Linked DNA regions of Homo sapiens: all the other regions are linked to region 3. Evidence: promoter capture Hi-C in human tissues and cell types (Jung and others, 2019). All regions are on one chromosome and are shown on one strand. The core of a region is centred on a gene start or on the middle of the fragment in contact, and the rest is flanking DNA. Distances in the headings are between cores, read along the strand shown.

Evidence for each region. The method cuts DNA at HindIII sites, captures the fragments that hold promoters and counts their contacts. A contact is called where the count stands out against the background at its distance.
Region 1: a fragment that was not itself captured here is called in contact with the fragment with the promoter of ATCAY in region 3 in 5 of the 25 tissues and cell types used here (H1 embryonic stem cells, IMR-90 fibroblasts, dorsolateral prefrontal cortex and 2 more).
Region 2: a contact is called between a fragment that was not itself captured here and the fragment with the promoter of ATCAY in region 3, in 4 of the 25 tissues and cell types used here (dorsolateral prefrontal cortex, heart right ventricle, lymphoblastoid cells and 1 more).

Annotation. Positions count from the first base shown.
Region 1 is chr19:3,794,283-3,798,347 of GRCh38, reverse strand. It overlaps a transcript of MATK not described here. Among named protein-coding and RNA genes, the nearest start is that of MATK, 9.9 kb to the right of the region's middle. The HindIII fragment of the contact is 4,542 bases long and covers 219-4,065 here.
Region 2 is chr19:3,978,634-3,982,535 of GRCh38, reverse strand. EEF2 (eukaryotic translation elongation factor 2) reads left to right here. Exons shown (of 15, transcript NM_001961.4): 5 at 112-290; 6 at 484-589; 7 at 1,084-1,197; 8 at 1,557-1,695; 9 at 1,827-2,022; 10 at 2,470-2,728; 11 at 3,100-3,207. SNORD37 (small nucleolar RNA, C/D box 37) reads left to right here; the gene lies at 1-29. Among named protein-coding and RNA genes, the nearest start is that of SNORD37, 2.0 kb to the left of the region's middle. RefSeq lists an enhancer at 212-1,063. The HindIII fragment of the contact is 5,039 bases long and covers 1-3,902 here.
Region 3 is chr19:3,878,167-3,882,207 of GRCh38, reverse strand. It overlaps ATCAY (ATCAY kinesin light chain interacting caytaxin), which reads right to left and starts at 1,523. Exons shown (of 13, transcript NM_033064.5): 1 at 1,200-1,523. RefSeq lists an enhancer at 1,318-1,848. The HindIII fragment of the contact is 15,458 bases long and covers 1-4,041 here.

The DNA.
Region 1 (4,065 bases), core at 1,240-3,739, 85 kb after region 3:
CGCCCTGTGGTGAGGAGGCTTCCGTCAGCTCTGTAGCACTCCATCATAATTGTTAGTCAACAGAGAGACCAAAACCCACAAAGAGAAAAGAAAAGTAACCTGAAGGAGAGACAAAGAGGGCAGAAGAAAACAGTTCTAGAAAAATCCTTATGTTCCTGATTCAAACACAGAACAGAAAAAAACAAAACCTGTATGCATCTTATCCTCGGAGAGCTCATAGAGGATATAACAGCCAGGAAACAAGTATAAGTTTGCCTTTATTTATTTACTTATTTATTTATTATTTATTTTTATTTTTTATTTTTTGAGATGGAGTCTCCCTCTGTCACCCAGGCTGGAGTACAGTGATGTGTTCTTGGCTCACTGCAAACTTCACCTCCCAGGTTCAAGCGATTCTCCTCCTTTAGCCTCCCAAGTAGCTGGGATTATAGGCATGAGCCACCATGCCCGGCTAATTTTTGTATATTTAGTAGAGATGGGGTTTCACCATGTTGGCCAGCCTGGTCTCGAACTCCTGACCTCTGGTGACCCATCAGCCTCAGACTCCTAAAGTGCTGGGATTACAGGTGTGAGCCACTGCACTGGGCCAAGAAATTCTTTTATTTATTTACATATTATTTGGAGATTGGGGTCTCACTATGTTGCCCAGGCTGGTCTCAAACTCCTGAGCTCCGTGAGCCACCACACACAGCCAAGTTTGTCCTTTAAAGAGGAACGGTAAAAGAACCAGAAAGAGCTCTTGGAAATTAAAACTCTGACAGTCACTGGGTGTGGTGGTGCATGCCTGTAATCCCAACACTCCAGGAGGCTGAGGCAGGCAGATTGTTTGAGCTCAGGAGTTTGAAACCAGCCTGGGAAACATAGTGAGACTAAAAATCAAAAAAATTAGCCAGCATGGTGGCAGGCACCTGTAGTCCCAGCTACTTGGGAGGCTGAGGCAGGAGGATCACTTGAGCCCAGGAGGTCGAGGCTGCAGTGGGCTGTGATTGCACCACTGCACTCCAGCCTGAGCAACAGAGTGAGACCCTGTCTCAAAAAAAAAAAAAAATTAATAGTCAAAATTAAAATGTCAATAGAAGGGTTGGAAGAAAAAGTAGAAAGTGGGGGGGTGGGGGGGAAGGTAGGCAAGAAAATGAAAACATCAATCCAAGAAGTCCACCCTATGACAATAACGTGTTCCACAAACACGCCAGAGAAACCAAAGTGGAAGAAATCACCAATGATATCATTCAAGAAAGTTTGCCAGGAAGAGAACACAGGAAAGAGCCCACCAAGTACTCAGCACAATGGTTGAAAACAGACCCACACCAAACCCACCACTGTGAAAGTGCAGGATGTAGGGAACAAGAAGATTCTACAAGCTTCCAGAAAGAGAGAGAGAGAGACAGAAATTAACCATGGGACAGGCAAAGTATGAGGAAACAGGACAACTTCTGATCATTCAGCTGCCCAAGACTAGAAGCTGGAAAACATTGGGCAAAAGAAAAGTATCCACCTACAATACTGTCAGCCAAACCTCTAATTACCCAGGAGAGTAGGAGGAAAACACTTTCTCTGGAAACCCTAGGGGGAGCACATTCCTAAAACAAGGGACCAAACCAAGAAACAGGGAGACCCACACCCAAGAAACAGGAGCTATATCTAAGAATCCCCTTGTGCCGAAGAAGAGAGGGGCCAGGATCACAGCTGGGCAGTAGGAGAAAGTCCTGAGTGGAGATGTCAGTTCTGGTGGAGAGGCTGGGGGAAAGAGTCACAGACACATAAAACCAAGGCGATGACTAACTCCAGGGAAATAAAAAAGCAGGTCCCAGAAAATAATGTTCTTAGTATACATTGCTCCACTGTCAATAATATTTATATTAATATATATACTATAAGCACTGAATTTTCATTTAAGCAAAAATTGTGATTTAACTGTTGGGGGAGCAGAATGCCTAAGAGAGCTAAATCTTGACCTTCTGGAATAGGAAGTCAATGGACAACATCCAACTGATAAATCAAGGGATGTGTAAAACACATTACTTGGAACTATGGAGGTAAATACCTGAAAACAGCAACAGCAACCCCTGAGGAGTGGGACATTATATTGCTTTGTCTTCAGCACACAGTAAAACACCCTATAAATATCAGCTGCTATTCATACCAACAAGAATATACTTACCCTTGAGAGGCTCATTGCTGAGTTGAGGAGCTTTATTTATATATTTTGAGTTTTATTTTTTTAAACACTTCTTGAGAGCTTATTACATGCCATGAGTATCAGCACATTTAATTTAACAGATTGAAAAATACAGCTGGTGGCTCACACGTGTAATCCCAGCACTTTGGGAGGCCGAGGCAAGCAGATCACTTGAGGTCAGGAGTTCGAGACCAGCCTGGCCAACATGGTGAAACCTCATCTCTACTAAAAATACAAAAATTAGCCAGGCGTGATGGCGCGTGCCTGTAATCCTAGCTATTCAAGAGGCTGAGGCAGGAGAATAGCTTGAACCTGGGAGGCGGAGGATGCAGTGAGCCAAGATCACGCCTCTGCACTCCAGCCTGGACGAAACAGTGAGATTCCATCTCAAAAAAAAAAAAAAAAAAAAAAAAAAAAGCACCTACTTATGAGAAAATAAAGACTGTGAGAAGGCAGCGGAGAGCAAACTACAGTCTGAGGGCCAAGTCCAACCTGCCATCTGTATCCGCACAACTCCTCCAGCTAAAATCGTTTTTTTACATTTGTAAATAGTTGGAGGAAAATGGAATCAATATTATATGACATATGAAAAGTCATATGAGGCCGGGCATGGTGGCTCATATCTGTAATCCCAGCACTTTGGGAGGCCAAAGTGGGCAGATCATCTAAGGTCAGGAGTTCAAGACCAGCCTGGCCAACATGAAACCCATCTCTACTAAAATACAAAAATTAGCCGGGTGTGGTGGCACATGCCTGTAATCCCAGCTACTTGGGAGGTTGAGACATGAGAATTGCTTGAACCCAGGAGGCAGAAGTTGCAGTGAGCCGAGATCACGTTAATGCATTCCAGCCTGGGTAACAGAGTGAGACTCTGTCTCAAAAAAAAAAAAAAGGCCAGGCTTGGTGGCTCACGCCCATAATCCTAGCACTTTGGGAGGCCGAGGTGGGCGGATCACGAGGTCAGGAGATCGAGACCATCCTGGCTAACACGATGAAATCCCTTCTCTACTAAAAATGCAAAAAATTAGGCGGGTGTGGTGGCGGGCGCCTGTAGTCCCAGCTACATGGGAGACTGAGGCAGGACAATGGTGTGAACCTGGGAGGTGGAGCGTGCAGTGAGCCAAGATCACGCCACTGCACTCCAGCCTGGGCAACAGAGCGAGACTCCAGCTCAAAAAAAAAAAAAAAAAAAAGCAAAAGAAAAGAAAAGTAATATGAAAGTCAAATGTCCATGTCCATAAATAAAGTTTTATTGGAATGCAGCCACGGTCTTTGGCTTCTGTGTTATCTATGGTGTCCCTGAAATGGCAGAGCTGAGTAGTTGGGACAGAGACCAGCATGCCCTTTAGAGAGACAGTTTGCTGGGCCCTGAGTTAGAGCATGAGGTCATGAGAGGATGAAGAGGGATCCTGGAGGAGAGACTTAGGGGCTGCTCTTGAGTAGACATGACTGGTTTATTCCGGAATAATGTGTATCTCCTGTTCTCCTTACTTGATCTTTTCTTTTCTTTTTTTGAGACAGGGTCTTGCTCTGTTGCCCAGGCTGGAGTGCAGTAGCATAATCATAGCTGACTGCAGCCTCAACCTCCTGGGCTCAAGTGATCCTCCTGCCTCAGCTTCCTGAGTGGCTGGGACTACAGGCATACACCACCACACCCAGCTAGTTTATTTTATTTTTTGTAGAGACAGGGTCTCACTATGTTGGCCAGACTGGTCTCCAATGGCAGGGCTCAAGCAATCCTCCCACCTCAGCCTCCCAAAGTGCTGGGATTGCAAGCGTGAGCCTTCATGCCTGGCCTCCTTCCTCAGACTTTACCCTCTCATCTGCTTCTGTAAGGGCCTTTTATGTGCCAGGCTCCAGACCTAAATGGTTGCCGGGCCCAGGGC
Region 2 (3,902 bases), core at 1,072-3,571, 100 kb before region 3:
TGTCTACTGAAGAAAGCCTGCGTCTGAGGCCCATGCCCAAGGCGCCCAGCCCGTAGCTTCAGGCTCTGCGCAGGGGCCCTCACGGCTGCTTCTCGTTTCTCACACTTCCAGATCGATCCTGTCCTCGGTACCGTGGGCTTTGGGTCTGGCCTCCACGGGTGGGCCTTCACCCTGAAGCAGTTTGCCGAGATGTATGTGGCCAAGTTCGCCGCCAAGGGGGAGGGCCAGTTGGGGCCTGCCGAGCGGGCCAAGAAAGTAGAGGACATGATGAAGAAGCTGTGGGGTGACAGGTGAGCCCCGCGGGATATGGTGGGGGATTCCTGACACCTGGGGGTAGTGGCAGCGACGTAGGGGCGTGGTGTGCTATTCACAGCGTGGCTCAAGCCCACCAGGTCTTGCCCAAGCATGTCCCCTTGGCGACCACCCTCCCCAAGTCATCCCCTGGAGACCCTAACTTGATTTGGCTTGGCCTCTCCTTGCCAGGTACTTTGACCCAGCCAACGGCAAGTTCAGCAAGTCAGCCACCAGCCCCGAAGGGAAGAAGCTGCCACGCACCTTCTGCCAGCTGATCCTGGACCCCATCTTCAAGGTGAGTGAGGGCTGCGCCAGGCACCCCGCCGATGCGACTATTGGCCCTCGGCCCTGTGGGCTCCGGCCGGTAGCCTGTCGGCTGACTGGGCCCGTCTCCTTGTGGGGCAGATGCGAGATGGGAGGAGGCACAGCTCCTAACTGAGGTGGAGTCAGGGCTCCTCTCTTAAGATCTGGACTGCATAGCCAGAGCCTTGGGACCTCTCCTGCATTGAGGGGGTTGAATAACTTGTGGCTTTGGCGGTTCAGTGCTTGTAAGTCAGAACTTGGGTCCTTGTCTGAGTCAGAGTGGGCTTTTTCCTCTGCTCCACCACGAGGTTTCCTCCAGCTCCCGATCCGCTCAGCTGGCTGGGCCCGTGGTAGGCAGGCCAGGCCTGCTCCTGCTCCCGTGCTGCGTCCCCCTGCGCTGACCTGAGTCTTCCAAGCAGGAAGCAGTGCCAGGCTTCCTCCTGCTGTTCCCAAATGGGCTTTCTTGTTTCTTGGTGGGGAATGTAGGTGTTTGATGCGATCATGAATTTCAAGAAAGAGGAGACAGCAAAACTGATAGAGAAACTGGACATCAAACTGGACAGCGAGGACAAGGACAAAGAAGGCAAACCCCTGCTGAAGGTGCGGCCTGGGCCCAGCCCTCGGGGTGGAGGGAACACAGGCTGCTGTTTCCGGATGCTCTGACAGCCCAGGCCTGGGGGCTGAAGTCCTCAGCTGGGCAGGGACAGCTGCTGCCCCTTTCGCTTTAGACTCTGGGTGCTGCTGGAGACACATCCCAGCAGCCAGCCCCATCCGGGACAGGTGTGGGTGAGGGCCTTGGCAGGAGTGTGCATGGCCTTTGCCGCCTTCCAGAAGGGACTGTGCTTTGGAGAACGTTAGTCCTGACTTTGGCTTCCTTGGCTTCAAGAGAGGAAGCGTGTACGGGGTGGGGCCATCCTGGGCTCCCCAGGTGTCTCATGCACCGCTCTCTGCCCCCGCAGGCTGTGATGCGCCGCTGGCTGCCTGCCGGAGACGCCTTGTTGCAGATGATCACCATCCACCTGCCCTCCCCTGTGACGGCCCAGAAGTACCGCTGCGAGCTCCTGTACGAGGGGCCCCCGGACGACGAGGCTGCCATGGGTACGTGGTCCCGGTGGCCGGGCCCTGAGATGCAGCCGGATGACTTCCTGTTGCCCAAGGTTGTGGGTTGCAGGGTTCCAGAAGGCTGAGCTGCACTGGAATAAAGCTTGCGGGTTTTCTCTGTCCCTCAGGCATTAAAAGCTGTGACCCCAAAGGCCCTCTTATGATGTATATTTCCAAAATGGTGCCAACCTCCGACAAAGGTCGGTTCTACGCCTTTGGACGAGTCTTCTCGGGGCTGGTCTCCACTGGCCTGAAGGTCAGGATCATGGGGCCCAACTATACCCCTGGGAAGAAGGAGGACCTCTACCTGAAGCCAATCCAGAGGTGAGCAGCTGGGTGATGTGCAGGCCCCTTGGCACTGTTGCGGGCCCTGCCCTGCTCCAAGTCTTGGGCTCCTCAGTCGGGAGCTAGAAGTAAGGAGCATAGAAGGAATATAGGGTGATACTTGTGCCAGCCACAACTTTTGTTCTTAGCCCAGTGAGGGCATTTCTGGAGAAGCTCCAAGCCCCAGGGCACAGCACACCCCTGCTCATCTGTGTCCCTGGGCACAGGTGGGTGGCGGCCGTCGACCCATACCCAGGGAGGAGGGCAGTGATTCTGAAGAGGATGTTTCCTGACAGCCCCGACGCAGCAGTCAGGGCCTTGTGGAAGCCACCAGTCTGCCCTGGGACCTGGCAGGAGGGCCACCAACTCCGGGAGGGACCTGCCCTGGCCCTCCAGGGTCCAGCACAACCATCCCTGCGGCCTGCTGCCGCCTTCTGCTTCTTCCAGAACAATCTTGATGATGGGCCGCTACGTGGAGCCCATCGAGGATGTGCCTTGTGGGAACATTGTGGGCCTCGTGGGCGTGGACCAGTTCCTGGTGAAGACGGGCACCATCACCACCTTCGAGCACGCGCACAACATGCGGGTGATGAAGTTCAGCGTCAGCCCTGTTGTCAGAGTGGCCGTGGAGGCCAAGAACCCGGCTGACCTGCCCAAGCTGGTGGAGGGGCTGAAGCGGCTGGCCAAGTCCGACCCCATGGTGCAGGTGGGCACGGAGTGCACCTGCTGGGAGCAGACACCCTGAGGGGGGACGGCTTGTGTCCTGAGTTGTGGCTGTGTGGGTTGCTGTGGTTGGTGGATTGGGGTGACTGGTCATGAAAGGAGGGGTTCTTGGCTGTGGCTGTAAATGGAGACTCCTGCCCAGGCAGCCACCACCCTCTCCTAGGCTGCTCTGCGCGTGTTCACTGTAGCTTGTGGGACTTAACATTTCTTCAGGAGTTTGTGCTGGTCCCAGTTTCCCAGCACCTTCCCTGAAATCTTGTTCTGGCGGGGTCCCTAGCTAAAGGGAAGCTGGGAGCCTGGTCCCGCCTGTTCCGAGCCGCCTACCCCTTTGGTGCTGACCCGCATCCCTTTCAGTGCATCATCGAGGAGTCGGGAGAGCATATCATCGCGGGCGCCGGCGAGCTGCACCTGGAGATCTGCCTGAAGGACCTGGAGGAGGACCACGCCTGCATCCCCATCAAGGTGAGGCGCCAGTGACCAGCCTTCCCCACGCCCCACCCCGGACACCTGCCCTCTGCTTTAAAGCTGAGCTGAGCTAGGCTCTGCAGACGCCTAGACTTGATCTCGGTCTTGGTCTCAGCTTCTTAAGTTCCTCAAGTTTCTTCTTTGCAGTCTTCCACAGGCATGTGGGGCTGTTTTTGTTGTTGTTGTTGTTTTTTTTGAGATAGTCTCGCTGTGTCATCCAGGCTGGAGTGCAGTGGCGTGATCTTGGCTCGCTAGAACCTCCACCTCCCGGGTTCAAGCGATTCTCTTGCCTCACTCAGCTTCCTGAGTAACTGGGACTACAGGCGCGTGCTACCACGCCCGGCTAATTTTTTTTTGTATTTTTAGTAGAGGCGGGGTTTCACTGTGTTAGTAAGTCAAGATGGTCTCGATCTCCTGACCTCGTGATCCCCCTGCCTCGGCCTCCCAAAGTGCTGGGATTACAGGTGTGAGCCACCATGCCTGGCCCAGGGCTATTTTTTTTTTTTTTTTTTTTTTTTTTTTGAGACAAGAGTCTTGCTCTGTTGCTTAGGCTGGAGTGCAATGGCGTGATCTTGGCTCACTGCAAGCTCTGCTTCCCAGGTTCACGCCATTCTCCTGCCTCAGCCTCCTGTAGCTGGGACTTCAGGCGCCTGCCATCATGCCCGGCTAATTTTTTGCATTTTTAGTAGAGA
Region 3 (4,041 bases), core at 274-2,773:
AAAAAACCAAATACATGAAGCATCTAAGGCCCCCAACTCTCATGGCATCCAGGCTGCCTCTCTGTGGAGTAGGTTACCTGCAGCCCCCCAGCATAGATATCGGGTTTGCATCGGGGACAGGGGACTGTGGCTTAGCAAGGAAGGACCCAGAGGCAGCCTCAGCCAGATGAGGAAGTGGGGGGAGGGGACGGCTAAAACTAGACCCTCCCCCGTACAGGGTGAGCGTTTCTCACTCGATTCTCTGTCCTCAATGTCGTCATTCATGCTTGGAGGAGGGACAGTAACACGCAGCATGGAAAAAAAAAAAATCCCTCCTGGATGCTATGGGGTCGGGGGGGGGGCGGTGGCAGCAGCCAGCCAGGCCCTTCCCGCGAGGGTAAGTTCTCCTCGGCAGTAGAAACGCATTTGCTCTCCGGAGGAAGGGGTCTTCGCCTCTCCCTTCCTTATACTGAGCTGGGTGTGACCTCAGCCCCCAGGAACACTCCCACCAGCCCCGCCCCCGACCCCCACCCCCTGCCAGCTGCAGCCACAGGCGTTGACTCCACAGTCTTCTAAGGATGGGGTGGGGTGGGTCCTCAGTGGGCCCCGGACACTCCTGCACTCAGATCCTGGCTTCGCATTTGGGGACGGCCAAAAGAAGACAGTGACATCAAGGAACGGGAGTGAAGCGCTCATTTGAGCCCTGATGTCTGATTATTAACAAATCACATACGAGTTCCAATAAGGAGGAGGCATCTGTGTCTTAAACCATAAACCACCCCCTTCCTCCCCACCCCACAGGACAGCCTTTATCGACACACTTAGATTTTTTTTTTTTTTTTTTCCCGAAATCGTCGGCTGGTGGCCTTCCTAGCGTTATAAATAGGAAATACATAGGGCTAGGATGGGTCTATTTCAGCGTCCCAGAGAGAAGCTGAGGTTTTCATCCGCCCGAGCTCTCAGCGTGTCCTGAAAATGGTGCACTTAGAGGGGAACGGTGCGCGCGGAAGGTAAACTGTGTTGCTGGGCGCAGCTCAGGGAACGGTTTTCCCTGGTACCGGGAACAGGGATGTGAGGGCCTTCACGGAGTCACAAGACCGTGGCTCTCTGCTCCCACCCGCCCCATCTGCTGGAAAGGGATTTAGAGGCGGCAAAGGCTGCCGGATAAACCTTCCAGGGAGACGGTTTATCCTGGGAGAAGGGGAGATGCGCGCACTCACCTCTGCAGCTGAGACAGCCTCTCCTCCTTACTGGCAAACAAAGGCGAGCCCTGCCCGGGTGCAGCTGGGCATCGCTCACGCTCCCCGGGCCTTCAGAGCCTAGGAGGAAGAGGATGCTCGCAGGGGCGGATTCTGCATCCGAGGAAGGTCACCCAGGGCGACGTGGCCAGCGCCCGCCAGCTCTTTTGTGCAGGGGTGGGTGGGGTGCAGGGTTAGCGGTGGGCTCCCCAGCGCGGGGCTGCGGCTGCGCCCCCTCTCATCGCCGCCCGCCTGCGCGCCCTGCCTCCGAGGTAGCTGCTTCTTCCCAGCTCAGGGCTGGCAGAGGCTCGGCTTCCCGAAGACGGTTAATTTATGCTGCTTTTGTGTGCAGGGAGGAGGGGGTGGGGGGTGGCGGCCTGACGGAAAAGCACAGCCCCCTGCCAGAATCCGATCCTCCCCATTGGCTGACAGACAAGCATCTCCGAAAGCCACGCCAGGGGCAGAGGCAGAAATAATTTTCTGATGGCGCATCAGAGATTTAAAAACAAAACAACGGACAAATAAATAAATAAATGGCAAGATGGCCTCATTCCTTAGAGAATGGGGGGTGGGGGAGTTGGGAAAGGTCTTCTTGGCACTTCTCCTTGCAAAGGGAGCAGGGGTGAGGGGTGGCATCCCCCAAAAAGTCTGTGCAGGCAAAGAAATGACTGTCCCCAGGTCGGATGCCATGGCTCACGCCTGTAATCCCAGCACTTTCGGAGGCCGAGGAGGGAGGATCACCTGAAGTCAGGAGTTCGATACCAGCCTGGCCAACATGGTGAAACCCCGTTTCTACTGAAAATACAAAAATTAGCCAGGCGTGGTGGCGTGCGCCTGTAATCCCAGCTACTCGGGAGGCTGAGGCAGGAGAATCGCTTGAACCTGGGAGGCGGAGGTTGCAGTGAGCCGAGATGGCGCCACTGCACTGCAGCCTGGGCGGCAGAGGGAGACTCTGTCTCAAAGAAAAAAAAAAAAAAAGAAAGAAATGACTGTCCCCAGGTCACCGTGTTGTGGGTCCATTAGATGGTCACTTACCATTGATTCAGCCTCGTGCCCTAAACAGGGCTGGGTGCAGGGGAGGCGGAAGTTTCTCAGGCACACTCACTTTGCAGGGCTGCTGTGGGAACGGCGCCCCCTGCAGTTGTGCGCTGGCGTGGCCTCGCCCTGGAGGAATTCAAGGAGACTGTGGAAGATGGTAGGGTGGAGAGTGCAGGCCGTGCAGTCGGACTGGAAGTGGGTTTGAACTCTAGCCCAGCCACTCCCCAGCTGGCAGACCAGTGGGCATGAGTGATCTCACCTGCGGGCCTCAGTTTTTCTCATCTGTGAAATGGAGCCGCTATGGCTTTTCCACATTATGAGATAATGCATAGACAGCACTAAACACAGTGCTGGGGCACAAGAAAAGCTCCCTATGTGTTTCTTTCTCTTTCTTTCTTTCTTTCTTTCTTTCTTTCTTTCTTTCTTTCTTTCTTTCTTTCTTTCTTTTTTTTTTTTTTTTAGGTGGAGTCTCGCTCTGTTGCCAGGCTGGAGTACAGTGGTGCGATCTTGGCTCACTGCAACCTCCGACTCCCAGGTTCAAGTGGTTCTCCTCCCTCAGCCTCCCAAGTAGCTGGGATTACAGGCACACACCACCACACCTGGCTAATTTTTTTTTTGTATTTTTAGTAGAGGCGGGGTTTCAACATGTTGGCCAGGCTGGTCTCGAACTCCTGACTTCAGGTGATCCGCCCACCTTGGCCTCCCAAAGTGCTGGGATTAGAGGTGCGAATCACTGTGCTCGGCCTATATGTATTTCTTGCTATTGCTGTTTTTAATGTTTATTTTATTTACTTATTTTTTTAAGAAACAGGAGTTTTCCCTGTCATCCAGGCTGGAGTGCAATGGCACAATCACAGCTCGCTGCAGTCTTGAACTCCCGGGCTCAGGTGATCCTTACACCTCTTTCTCTCCAGTGGTTGAGACTACAGGCTCCTACCACCACGCCCTGCTAATCTGTGTAATTTTTGTAGAAATAGGGTATCTCTCTATTGCCCAGGCTGGTCTTGAATTCTTGGGCTCAAGTGAGCCTCTCATCTCAGCCTCGAAAAATGTTGGGATTATAGGTGTGAGCCACCGTGCCTGACCCACAGCACTTACTATTAATTGAAATTATTTACACTTTTTTGTTGTTGTTGTTGATTCTCTGCTCCTCCTTATTAGAATATACTGGGTTTTGTTTTGTTTTGTTTTGTTTTGAGACAGAGACTTGCTCTGTTTCCCAGGCTGGAGTGCAGTGGTGTGATCTCAGCTCACCGCAACCTCCTCCTCCTCTCAGGTTCAAGCGATTCTCATGCCTCAGCCTCCCAAGCATCTGGGACTACAGGCATGCACCACCACACCCAGCTATTTTTTTTATTTTTGGTAGAAACGGGGTTTCACCATGTTGGCCAGGCTGGTCTTAAACTCCTGACCTCAGGCAACCTGCCCACCTTGGCCTCCCAAAGTGTTGGGATTACAGGCGTGAGCCACCGCACCTGGCCAGAATATACATTTTCGAAGAGCAGAGGCTCGGTTGTTCTTATGCACCACACGTTCTCCGCACAAGGTAGCAACTCCTGGTCCAAAGCTGTTCAGGAGACGCAGGCAGAGTGCATGAAGGCTGGCTCCCTTCATGACATTCAATGACACCCCACCTAGGCTGGCAGCCTCACCCGCTGCATGGAGGTCTGCACTCTTCCGAGGCATAAAGGTAACCTGCCCACAGCAGAGGCAGAAAGCCCTGATGGGGAAGCAGAGGCCCCAGAGACTTTAGCACAAGGTTGGGACTTCCCATCTCCTGGCTGGA